Linked DNA regions of Homo sapiens: all the other regions are linked to region 2. Evidence: promoter capture Hi-C in human tissues and cell types (Jung and others, 2019). All regions are on one chromosome and are shown on one strand. Each heading gives the region's core, a stretch centred on a gene start or on the middle of the fragment in contact. The rest is flanking DNA. Distances are from core to core; before and after follow the strand shown. Region 1 overlaps LOC124904638 (a long non-coding RNA gene). Region 2 holds the start of DOCK6 (dedicator of cytokinesis 6). Region 3 holds the start of YIPF2 (Yip1 domain family member 2).

The links. The method cuts DNA at HindIII sites, captures the fragments that hold promoters and counts their contacts. A contact is called where the count stands out against the background at its distance.
Region 1: a contact is called between a fragment that was not itself captured here and the fragment with the promoter of DOCK6 in region 2, in 6 of the 25 tissues and cell types used here (aorta, dorsolateral prefrontal cortex, lymphoblastoid cells and 3 more).
Region 3: the fragment with the promoter of YIPF2 here is called in contact with the fragment with the promoter of DOCK6 in region 2 in 2 of the 25 tissues and cell types used here (heart left ventricle and lymphoblastoid cells).

The regions. Positions count from the first base shown.
Region 1 is chr19:11,583,148-11,586,155 of GRCh38, reverse strand. It overlaps LOC124904638 (a long non-coding RNA gene), which reads right to left. Exons shown (of 2, transcript XR_007067140.1): 2 at 2,492-2,739. It also overlaps the pseudogene GAPDHP76. Among named protein-coding and RNA genes, the nearest start is that of ACP5, 7.0 kb to the right of the region's middle. RefSeq lists enhancers at 2,062-2,121, 2,132-2,271. The HindIII fragment of the contact is 7,524 bases long and covers 1-3,008 here.
Region 2 is chr19:11,261,252-11,264,246 of GRCh38, reverse strand. DOCK6 (dedicator of cytokinesis 6) reads left to right here and starts at 1,723. Exons shown (of 48, transcript NM_020812.4): 1 at 1,723-1,850. The coding sequence starts at 1,807. RefSeq lists silencers at 1,639-1,798, 1,869-1,928, 2,009-2,148. The HindIII fragment of the contact is 27,433 bases long and covers 1-2,995 here.
Region 3 is chr19:10,927,223-10,930,195 of GRCh38, reverse strand. YIPF2 (Yip1 domain family member 2) reads left to right here and starts at 1,557. Exons shown (of 10, transcript NM_001321439.2): 1 at 1,557-1,685; 2 at 1,756-1,816; 3 at 2,237-2,397; 4 at 2,480-2,566. The coding sequence starts at 1,786. TIMM29 (translocase of inner mitochondrial membrane 29) reads right to left here and starts at 1,385. Exons shown (of 2, transcript NM_138358.4): 1 at 1,280-1,385; 2 at 1-1,182. The coding sequence starts at 1,373. The coding sequence ends at 494. RefSeq lists silencers at 940-989, 1,030-1,309 and enhancers at 1,523-2,223, 2,224-2,926. The HindIII fragment of the contact is 42,517 bases long and covers 1-2,973 here.

The DNA of each region.
Region 1 (3,008 bases), core at 1-2,500, 320 kb before region 2:
CTACAGATACACCCCACCATGCCTGGATAATTTTTTTAAACTTTTTGTAGAGACAGAGTCTTGCTATGTTGGCCAGGCTGGTCTTGAACTCCTAGGCTCAAGTGATCCTCCAACCGCAGCTTCCCAAAGTGTTGGGATTACAGGCATGAGTCACTGCACCTGGCCTCCATCCCTATTTAAAACAAAAAAAGAAAAAAGAAAGAAAGAAAACCAAACCAAACCAAAAAAAAACGTTGTCACGGATGACCTTGGCCGGAGGGTAAGCAGTTGGTGGTGCAGGAGGCATTGCTGACGATCATGAGGTTTTTGTATCTCTCATGGTTCATGTCCATCACAAACATGGGGGCATGGGCAGAGGGGGCAGAGATGGTGATCCCTTTGGCTGCCCATCCTAAGCGAGCCCCAGCCTTCCCCATGGTCGTGAAGATGCTGCTGGTGGACTCCATGACATAACCAGTGCCAGCATCGTCACCCAATTTGATTTTGCTGGGATCTGGCTTCTAGAAGATGGGGATGAGATTCCCATTTCCTATTGATGACAAGCTTCCCTTCTCTTTCTCAGTCTTTTCTTTTCTTTTTTTTTTTTTTTAAGAGAGAGAGGATCTCCCTATGTTGCCTAGGCTGGTCCTGAACTCCTGGTCTCAAGTGATCCTCCCACCTCAACCTCCTAAGTAGCTGAGATTACAAGCATGAGCCACCACACCCAGCCCACTTCTCAGCTTTGATGGTGCCGCGGAACTTGCCGTGGGTAGAATCATATTGGAACATGTAGACCATGTAGTTGAGGTCAATGAAGGGGTCATTGAGGTGACAACATCCATTCTGCCAGAGTTAAAAGCAGCTCTGGTGCCCTGGTGACCAGGCACCCAATATGGCCAAATCCATTTACTCCTGTCTTCACTTTCACCACGGTGTCTCGGGGACATGCCTTTTTCACTGCATGAAAAGATGTGGCTGTCTGTCAAATGGGAGGAGCAGAGAGGCTCTGCCTTTTTAATCTTTAAGAAAAAAAATTCAGGCTGGGCATGGTGGCTCACGCCTGTAATCCCAGCACCTTGGGAGGCCAAGGCAGGCGGATCACAAGGTCAGGAGATCCAGACCATCCTTACTAACATGGTGAAACCCCGTCTCTACTAAAAAATACAAAAAATTAGCTGGGCGTGGTGGCGGGCACCTGTAGTCCCAGCTACTTGGGAGGCTGAGGCAGGAGAATGGCGTGAACCCGGGAGGCGGAGCTTGCAGTGAGCCAAGATCGCGCCACTGCACTCCAGCCTGGGTGATGGAGCAAGACTCTGTCTCAAATAATAATAATAATAATAATTTAGATGGGGTCTCACTGTGTCACCCAGGCTTGTCTCAAACTCCTGGGCTCCAGTGATCCACCCACCTCAACCTCCCAAAGTGCTGGGATTACAGGTGTGAGCCACCACACCCGGCCTATTATTATTATTTGAGACAGTCTTGCTCTTGTCGCCCAGGCTGGAGTGCAGTGGCACGATCTTGGCTCACTGCAACCTCTGCTTCCCGGGTTCAAGCGATTCTCCTGCCTCAGCCTCCCGAGTAGCTGGGATTACAGGTGGCTGCCACCACGCCCAGCTAATTTTTTTTGTATTTTTAGTAGAGATGGGGTTTCACCTTGTTGGTCAGGCTGGTCTCAAACACCTGACCTCAGGTGATCCGCCCACCTCAGCCTCCCAAAGTGCTGGGATTACAGGCGTGAGCCACTGCTCCTGGCCCTGTCTTTTAATTTTTAAAGGGTAGGGGGCACCATGACCCATCTTTGCCCACCTAAACCACCTATTCAGCAGCCCATGCCCCGCAGCCCACAGCTGGGGGACATCATGCAAAATCTAAGTCAGATCTGTCCCTCTGATCAGAACCCTCTGTGGCTCCCACCTTACCCAGATAAAAGCCCCCTTCCCTGCAGCCCCCAAGAGCACACGCAACCTGCCCCACCCACACCCTTCTCTGTTCCTTGCCCTTGACCTTGCAGACTCAACCTTCCGGATTCACTTCCCCCTTGCTCACTCTGCTCCAGCCACAAAAGCCAATTTTTGGTTCCTCAAATCAAACTAACTCATGACAGCATTTTGAATTTTGAAGCCTTGGGGCCCCGAAAAAGTCCATCTTTTTTTTTTTTTTTTAAGATCGAGTCTCACTGTGTTGCCCAGGCTGGAGTGCGGTGGTGTGATCTCGACTCACTGCAACCTCTGCCTCCCTGGTTCAAGCAATTCTCCGGCCTCAGCCTCCCAAGTAGCTGGGATTACAGGTGCTCGCTGCCATGCCCAGCTAATTTTTTTGTATTTTAGTAGAGAAAGGGTTTCACCTTGTTGCCTAGGCTGATCTTGAACTCCTGAACTCAGGCAATCTGTCTGCCTCAGCCTCCCAAAGTGCTGGGATTACAGGCGTGAGCCACTGCGCCCGGCCCAAAAATCCATCTTTGTGGGTTCCTTTGTAAATGTGTAGTCAATTTAGAAATTTAGAAACACGGTTTCCCTTAAGCCTTTATTTAGTTACAATCACAACTAACATGTTACTTATACACCTGGCAAAGTGAAACATCAAAAAATTAATTCAGGGCCTGGCCTCAGGCCTGTAATCCCAGCACTTTGGGATGCCAAGGCAGACGGATCACTTGAGGTCAGGAGAATCGCTTGAACCTGGGAGACGGAGGTTGGGACGAGCTGAAGATCACACCACTGCGCTCCAGCTTGGGTGACAGAGTGAGTGAGACTCCATCTCAACAAAAAGAAAAAGAAATATCACTTTAAGAGGTCATTGGATGCATATTTGGGTCCGTTTATAAGTTTAGTGGATTGAAATTAACATTTTACATTTTATAAGTGTGATGCATTTTATTCTATACTCTTTTACTACTATAATAATAATTATTATTATTAATTTTTTTTTTGAGATGGAGTCTCGCTCTGTCACCCAAGCCGGATGGAGTGCAGTGGCGCGATCTTGGCTCACTGCAAGCTCCACCTCCCAGGTTCATGCCATTCTCC
Region 2 (2,995 bases), core at 474-2,973:
AACCCCGTCTCTACTAAAAATACAAAAAATTAGCCAGGTGTGATGGTGGGTGCCTGTAATCCCAGCTACTCGGGAGGCTGAGGCAGGAGAATCGCTTGAACCTGGGAGGCAGAGGTTGCGGTGAGCCGAGATTGTGCCATTGCACTCCAGTCTGGGCAACAAGAGCGAAATGCCACCTCAAAATAAATAAATAAATAAATAAATAAATAAATAAATAAATAAATAAATAATAGAGGATAAAATGCCAGCAACCCATAGATGGGAATGAGAACAGCACGTGCAAAGGCCCTGAGGCAGAGCCACGGCCTTGTCTGATTCAACCTCAAATTCTCCCTGGGGCATTTGCTGACCAGGGAAAGAAGGGCTGTCCAGGAGGAAGGACCTGCCGGTGCAGAGGCATGCAGGTGAGAAAGGGGTGAGCTCCTCCAGAGGGGAGTGTCGGCTGGAGAATTCTCTAAAAATGCTGCAGCAGTGCTGGGAGAGAGGCCAGTGGGGAGAGATTTGAGACCATAGATTAACCAAGACATCCCCACCTCTTCCTCTTGGTAGAGGCGGCCCCGAAAGTCTAGACTCCCAAACTGGCTCACTCAGGTCCCACCACCTGGACCTGGGGCACATCTCCGAGCACTCCAGTGCCTAGCCAGGCTCCTCTGACTCCCATGCTGTAGACTGGGAGCACGGACAATGCAGGCGCTGGAGACCCCTGTGAGTCACACTGAGCAAGCACCCGAACACCTCTGTGCCTCAGTTTACTCATCTGTAAAAGGAGGAAAACAATAATTTCTTCTGCATGTGTGAATTGCAGGGCCAGGCTCAATGACATCTTAGCAATTAGACTTTTTGAGACAGGGTCTCGCTCTGTCACCCAGGCTGGATTGAAATGGCACAATCACAGCTCACTGCAGCCTTGACCTCCCAGGCTCAAGCGATCCTCCTCCCTCAGACTCCCAAGTAGCTGAGATTACAGGCACACACCACCATGCCTGGTTAATTTTTGCATTTTTTGTGGACACGGGGTCTCATTATGTTGCCCAGGCTGGTCTCCAACTCCTGGGCTCAAACAATCCTCCTGCCTTGGCCCCCCACAGTGCTGGGATTACAGGCATGAGCCACCATGCACGGCCACGATTATACTTACAGGTATGATTATTAGATACATGAACATCGTTATTGTTTTCCAGCCAGGAGTCAGAGGGCAGAAAGAGCGCCCCCCAAACCCCGGAAATCTGGGGCCTACCCAGCCTGGGTCCCAGCGCCTCCCCTCCCTCCCTCCCTCCTGAGCTTCAGTTTCCCCAGCCCTGCTCCTGGGGTGGTAAGACCACCCCACTAAACCCCGGGAGCCTGGGGTCCACCTAGCCCGGGTCTCAGCGCCTCCCTTCCCTCCCTCCCTCCTCAGGCTCAGTTTCTCCAGCCCAGCTCCCAGGGTGGAAAGAGCGCCCCCGCCAGCTCGGGAGTCTGGGGCACCCCCAGTCTGGGTCCCAGCGCCTCCTCTCCCTAACTTCCCTCCTCAGCCTCAGTTTCCCCAGCCCTTCTCCTAGGGTAGAAAGAGCGTCCCCCCAGCCCGGGAGTCTGGGGCCCGCCCAGCCTGGATCCCGGGGCCTCCTCTCCGTCCCCAGCCTCAGTTTCCCCAGCCCCCAGGACTCCAGGCGACCCCTCCGGCCTGCAGGGGCAGCACGGAGCGGCCCGGGCCACCCGGAAGGGCCCCGCCCCCGCGCCGGCCCCGCCCCGCCCCGGCTGCCCAGAACCGGGAGGCGGCGGCGGCGGCGGGGCCGGGGCCCGGGGCGGCGGCGGCGGGACGCGAGGACCATGGCTGCCTCCGAGCGCCGCGCCTTCGCGCACAAGATCAACAGGTAGTGTGGCCGCGGGGCCCCCTCCCACCTCCCCCACGTGGCCCGGCTCCGCCCCGGGGCGGTGCGACCCTCCCCGCCCGGGCGCCCCCAATTCAACCCCTTTCCGCCTCGGCCCGGGTCCCGCCAGCTTCCTCCGGCCGGGGCTGGGAGCGGGAGAAGGCGGGGAGGGCCGCGGGGGTCCCGGCGGGGGTCCCAGATGGGAGTCGCGTCGGGGCTGGGAGCGCGATGGCGGCTGCCGTTCTGCCTCCGTGACGCGCGGGGGTGTGTCCGGAGGGCTTCCCGGAGGAGGTGGCGTGGGGATGCGGATGACGGGCGCCCCCTGAACTCCCTGCGCTCCCCGTCCGCCTCTCGGCCCCTCACTGTCCCCGCGCTCTCGGAGATCGGGGTGGGCCGGACTTTCTGTTCCTTCCTCAGTGCCTGGTTTGGGGCAGGGAGGCTCCAGGCTCTGAGATTTGGGGACAGAGATGGGCTCCTTGGTGGCGTTTGAAACCCCTCGAGGAGTTTCCCGTGCCCTTCCCCCTCCAGGGTCCAGTGCCCAGCTGTCGGGGGGGGGGAAGGGGGACAGCTGTGGACGCCCCCCCACCTTCTGCTTCAGGCTCTCCCGTCACGGGCTGGACCGCGCTGGGGATGGATGGGTGATTGAATGGAGGGAGTGGGGGCTGGGGACAGAACCAGCTGGTGGGCAGACGGGGGAGGGGACAGGCCCCAGGCGCTGGGGGATCCATTTCCGTGGCCACTGGGGATTGTGAGAGTCACAGCCTGGGAGGGGTATATCAGACTCTCTGGGGCTGAAAAGCCTCGCCCCCAGTTGGCGGGGGGTCTTTGCGACAAGGGTGCGTTCAGAAGCTCAGGTATCCTCTCCCCGGGGGACCTGTCCTGACTGCCCCCAGGTGAAAGAGCTGCCCTGTGGGTTGGGCCCTGGTCTTATGGAGACAAAAGATCCCCCTCTTGGGATATAGTGGCGGAGAGAGACCAGAAGCCTGATCGAGTAGATTACCTGTCAGTGACAAGTGCTGTAGGGACAAGAAGACAGGGAAGGGGGATGGGAGGGTGGGGGCTGCTTGAGATGCGGGAGGTGGGTCAGGAAGGCCTGGATGAGCAGGTGCCTTTGAGCAAAAACCTCAAGGAGATGAGAGAGGGATCGA
Region 3 (2,973 bases), core at 308-2,807, 330 kb after region 2:
TGTAGCATCGGAGTCTTGCTATGTCACTCTAGCTGGCCTCAAACTCCTGGCCTCAAGCGATTCTCTTGCCTCAGTTTGCAAACTGCTGGGATTACAGACATCACCATGCCAGGCCACAACCCAAACTTGAAAAAGAAAATCTAAGTGGCCTTAGAAGAGTTTGCAAGTCAGCTGACCAATGTGGTACCTCCTTAAGGAGGGCCTCTGAGGCCCGATGAAAAAGGCTTATATAAAAGGCTCATGACCAGCTCTGCCAGTGATGAACATGTGTCAAGTCGTTCTGCTGTCCCCAACTCCCGGACCCAGGTGGCTCTGAATTAGCTTCAGCTAATAAAGAACAAAGACGGGGGGCAGAAAGGCTCCCCAAACTTGTGCAAATCCAGTGAGAAAACACTTTGCACATCATCTGTCTCAGCTGTTCTGCAGGTGAGGCACACTCAGAACTGCACCACCCCAGGCAAGCAGTTTGCCAGGACTCGGGGGCCTCAGGGTTTCATCTCGGGGCCTCCGCCTGCACCAGCGAGTGGGCCTGGCTCAGGGCGAGCCTGTCCTTCTTCTCCTTCTGCAAGACCTGCTCCTCCCACAGCGCCTGGTCCACCTGATCGTCGGTGAGCACGACAGGCTTGTACTTCTCATCGAAGAGCCGCTCGTTGGTCTCGGAATGCAGCTGCTGGGGCCCGACCACCCGCAAATGCGCCGGCAGGTGCAGGAATTCGTCGTCGTTGATGTCGCAGTCGCGCATCCAGGCCCCCAGCACCCACCAGCGACCCACGAAGCCCACGTCCAGGACCCGGCCGGGGAAGTCGGTCCAGCGGGGCTGCAGGTAGCGGCAACGCGCCTGGTAGAGGCTGGCCTGGGCGTCGAAGGGCGCCTCGTACACCAGCGAGCAGAGCCCCAGGTTGACGTAGCGCAGGCGGCCACGGCCCCGCAGCCAGAGCAGCCTCTGCACGAAGGCTTCGGACTCGCGGTTGCGGGTGGCCGGCGCCAGCAGCAGGAGGGTCCCCGACGCCTCCAGCAGCGCCTCCTCGAAGGCACCCTCGCTGGGCGCCAGCGTGAAGCAGGCCGCCGCGCCGCCCAGCAGACCCACATACACAGCGGCGCGCCCCGGCCGGGCCCTAGCCTCCGCCGAAGCGTCCCTGCAGGCCTCGGCGTAGTCCCGGAGCAGCGCGCGGGCCCAGGACCCTGAGGGGAGAGGAGCGCGGTAAGAGTGATCCGGCCGCGGCGGCCACCCACCCTGTCGCGGCGGCCACCCACCCTGCCGCCTTCCGCCGCTACTCACCCAGCCGCGCCCACACTCCCGGCTTCGCCACTACCGCGTCGCCCGCCTCTGCGCGGCGCCGGGACCAAAATCTCCTCAGAGCCGCCGCGGCCATCCTCTTCCGTCTTGGGGGTCCTTGCTCCGGGAAGAAACTCCTGATACCCGACGTTAAGAGCCCGGGAGTCTCTTCTGCGCAAGCGCCAACTTTACCGGAAGTGGCTTCCCAACGGGAGAGGATAGAAAGAGGACAGGCGCCGGATGTTGCTGTCAGGTCTGAGTCGGTTGGAGTCTGACGGGTAGGCGAGACGCGCAGGCGCAGAGAGCCCCAGCCACGCCGGCCCAGGTGGCCTCAGGTGAGGGGGGGCGGAGCGCACCTGTGGGGACGGGACGACGAGTTCAAGCCTCCGTGGGTGCAGTTGGTCGCCAGGTAGGGCTGGGGGCCGAGGGACCGGCTCGGGGGCGGGGGGGAAGTGTGCCTGACCGGTCTCTGTCCTCAGCGAGGGATGCGGAGACGCCCCTGAACGACCATGGCATCGGCCGACGAGCTGACCTTCCATGGTGAGTGCGGCCCCGACGTGGCCGGATCTCCCACTCCCGCCCCGGGCCAGAACCTCCCCCCGATACGGCTTCCAATTTCTCTACCCCGAAGCCTAGGCGGCTGTGAACCCTGACCCAGGAGTGAGACCCATCTCTGACTCGAACCCCGCCCCCGCCCTGAACTCAGACCTCAAACCCGAGCCTCTCGTCCCCAGACCCTGACCCCATCCCAGCGTCAACCCTAAGTTGCAGTTCCACTTTAGGAGGAAGGGAACAGATGTCCTCCGGATGCCTCCAAACTGAGGAAGTTGGGCCCCACCTTGGGGGAGATCAATGGCTCAGCAGAGCCTCCGCCCCCAGATGAGCATCGGTTTAGCTTGGGCCCAGTCGAGTTCTTTCCACCCCTCAAACGTGCGTGTGTCCCATATACCTCCTCCACAGAATTCGAGGAGGCCACTAATCTTCTGGCTGACACCCCAGATGCAGCCACCACCAGCAGAAGCGATCAGCTGACCCCACAAGGGCACGTGGCTGTGGCCGTGGGCTCAGGTGGCAGCTATGGAGCCGAGGATGAGGTGGAGGAGGAGAGTGACAAGGCCGCGGTGAGTCCCTGTGTCCTGCCTCCTTGCAGCCCCCAGCTGACCCAGGCTCTCCGGGCAGGCACTGAATGCCCGCAATGTGCAGCTCCTGCAGGAGCAGCAGCAGCAGCAGCAGCCGGGATTCTGGACCTTCAGCTACTATCAGAGCTTCTTTGACGTGGACACCTCACAGGTCAGGCTGGGGAGGCAGGTGGGATGGGGCTCAGAGTTATGCTCAGGGTTCAGCCACTCTTCCCCTGGGCAGGGTGCTGGTGATGGTGGGTGCTGGTGAACGAACTGTGGTGCTCTCAAAGGGTTATGGTGGGACTGGTTATGGATCGGGACTATGGGAACACAGGGGACACACACAATCTGGTGGGTTAGAGAAAGGCCTCCTGGGGGAGGTGAGGAATTGGCTGAGACCTAAAGGAGACAGAAGGCTTCCCTGGGGAATAGGGTAGGGAAGCAGGAGTATATGTTCCAGGCACAGGGAACAGCATATGCAGAAGACCAAAGATGGACTGGGCGCAGTGGCTCCTGCCTGTAATCCCAGCACTTAAGGGGGCCGAGGTGGGCAGATAACCTGAGGAGTTCAAGACC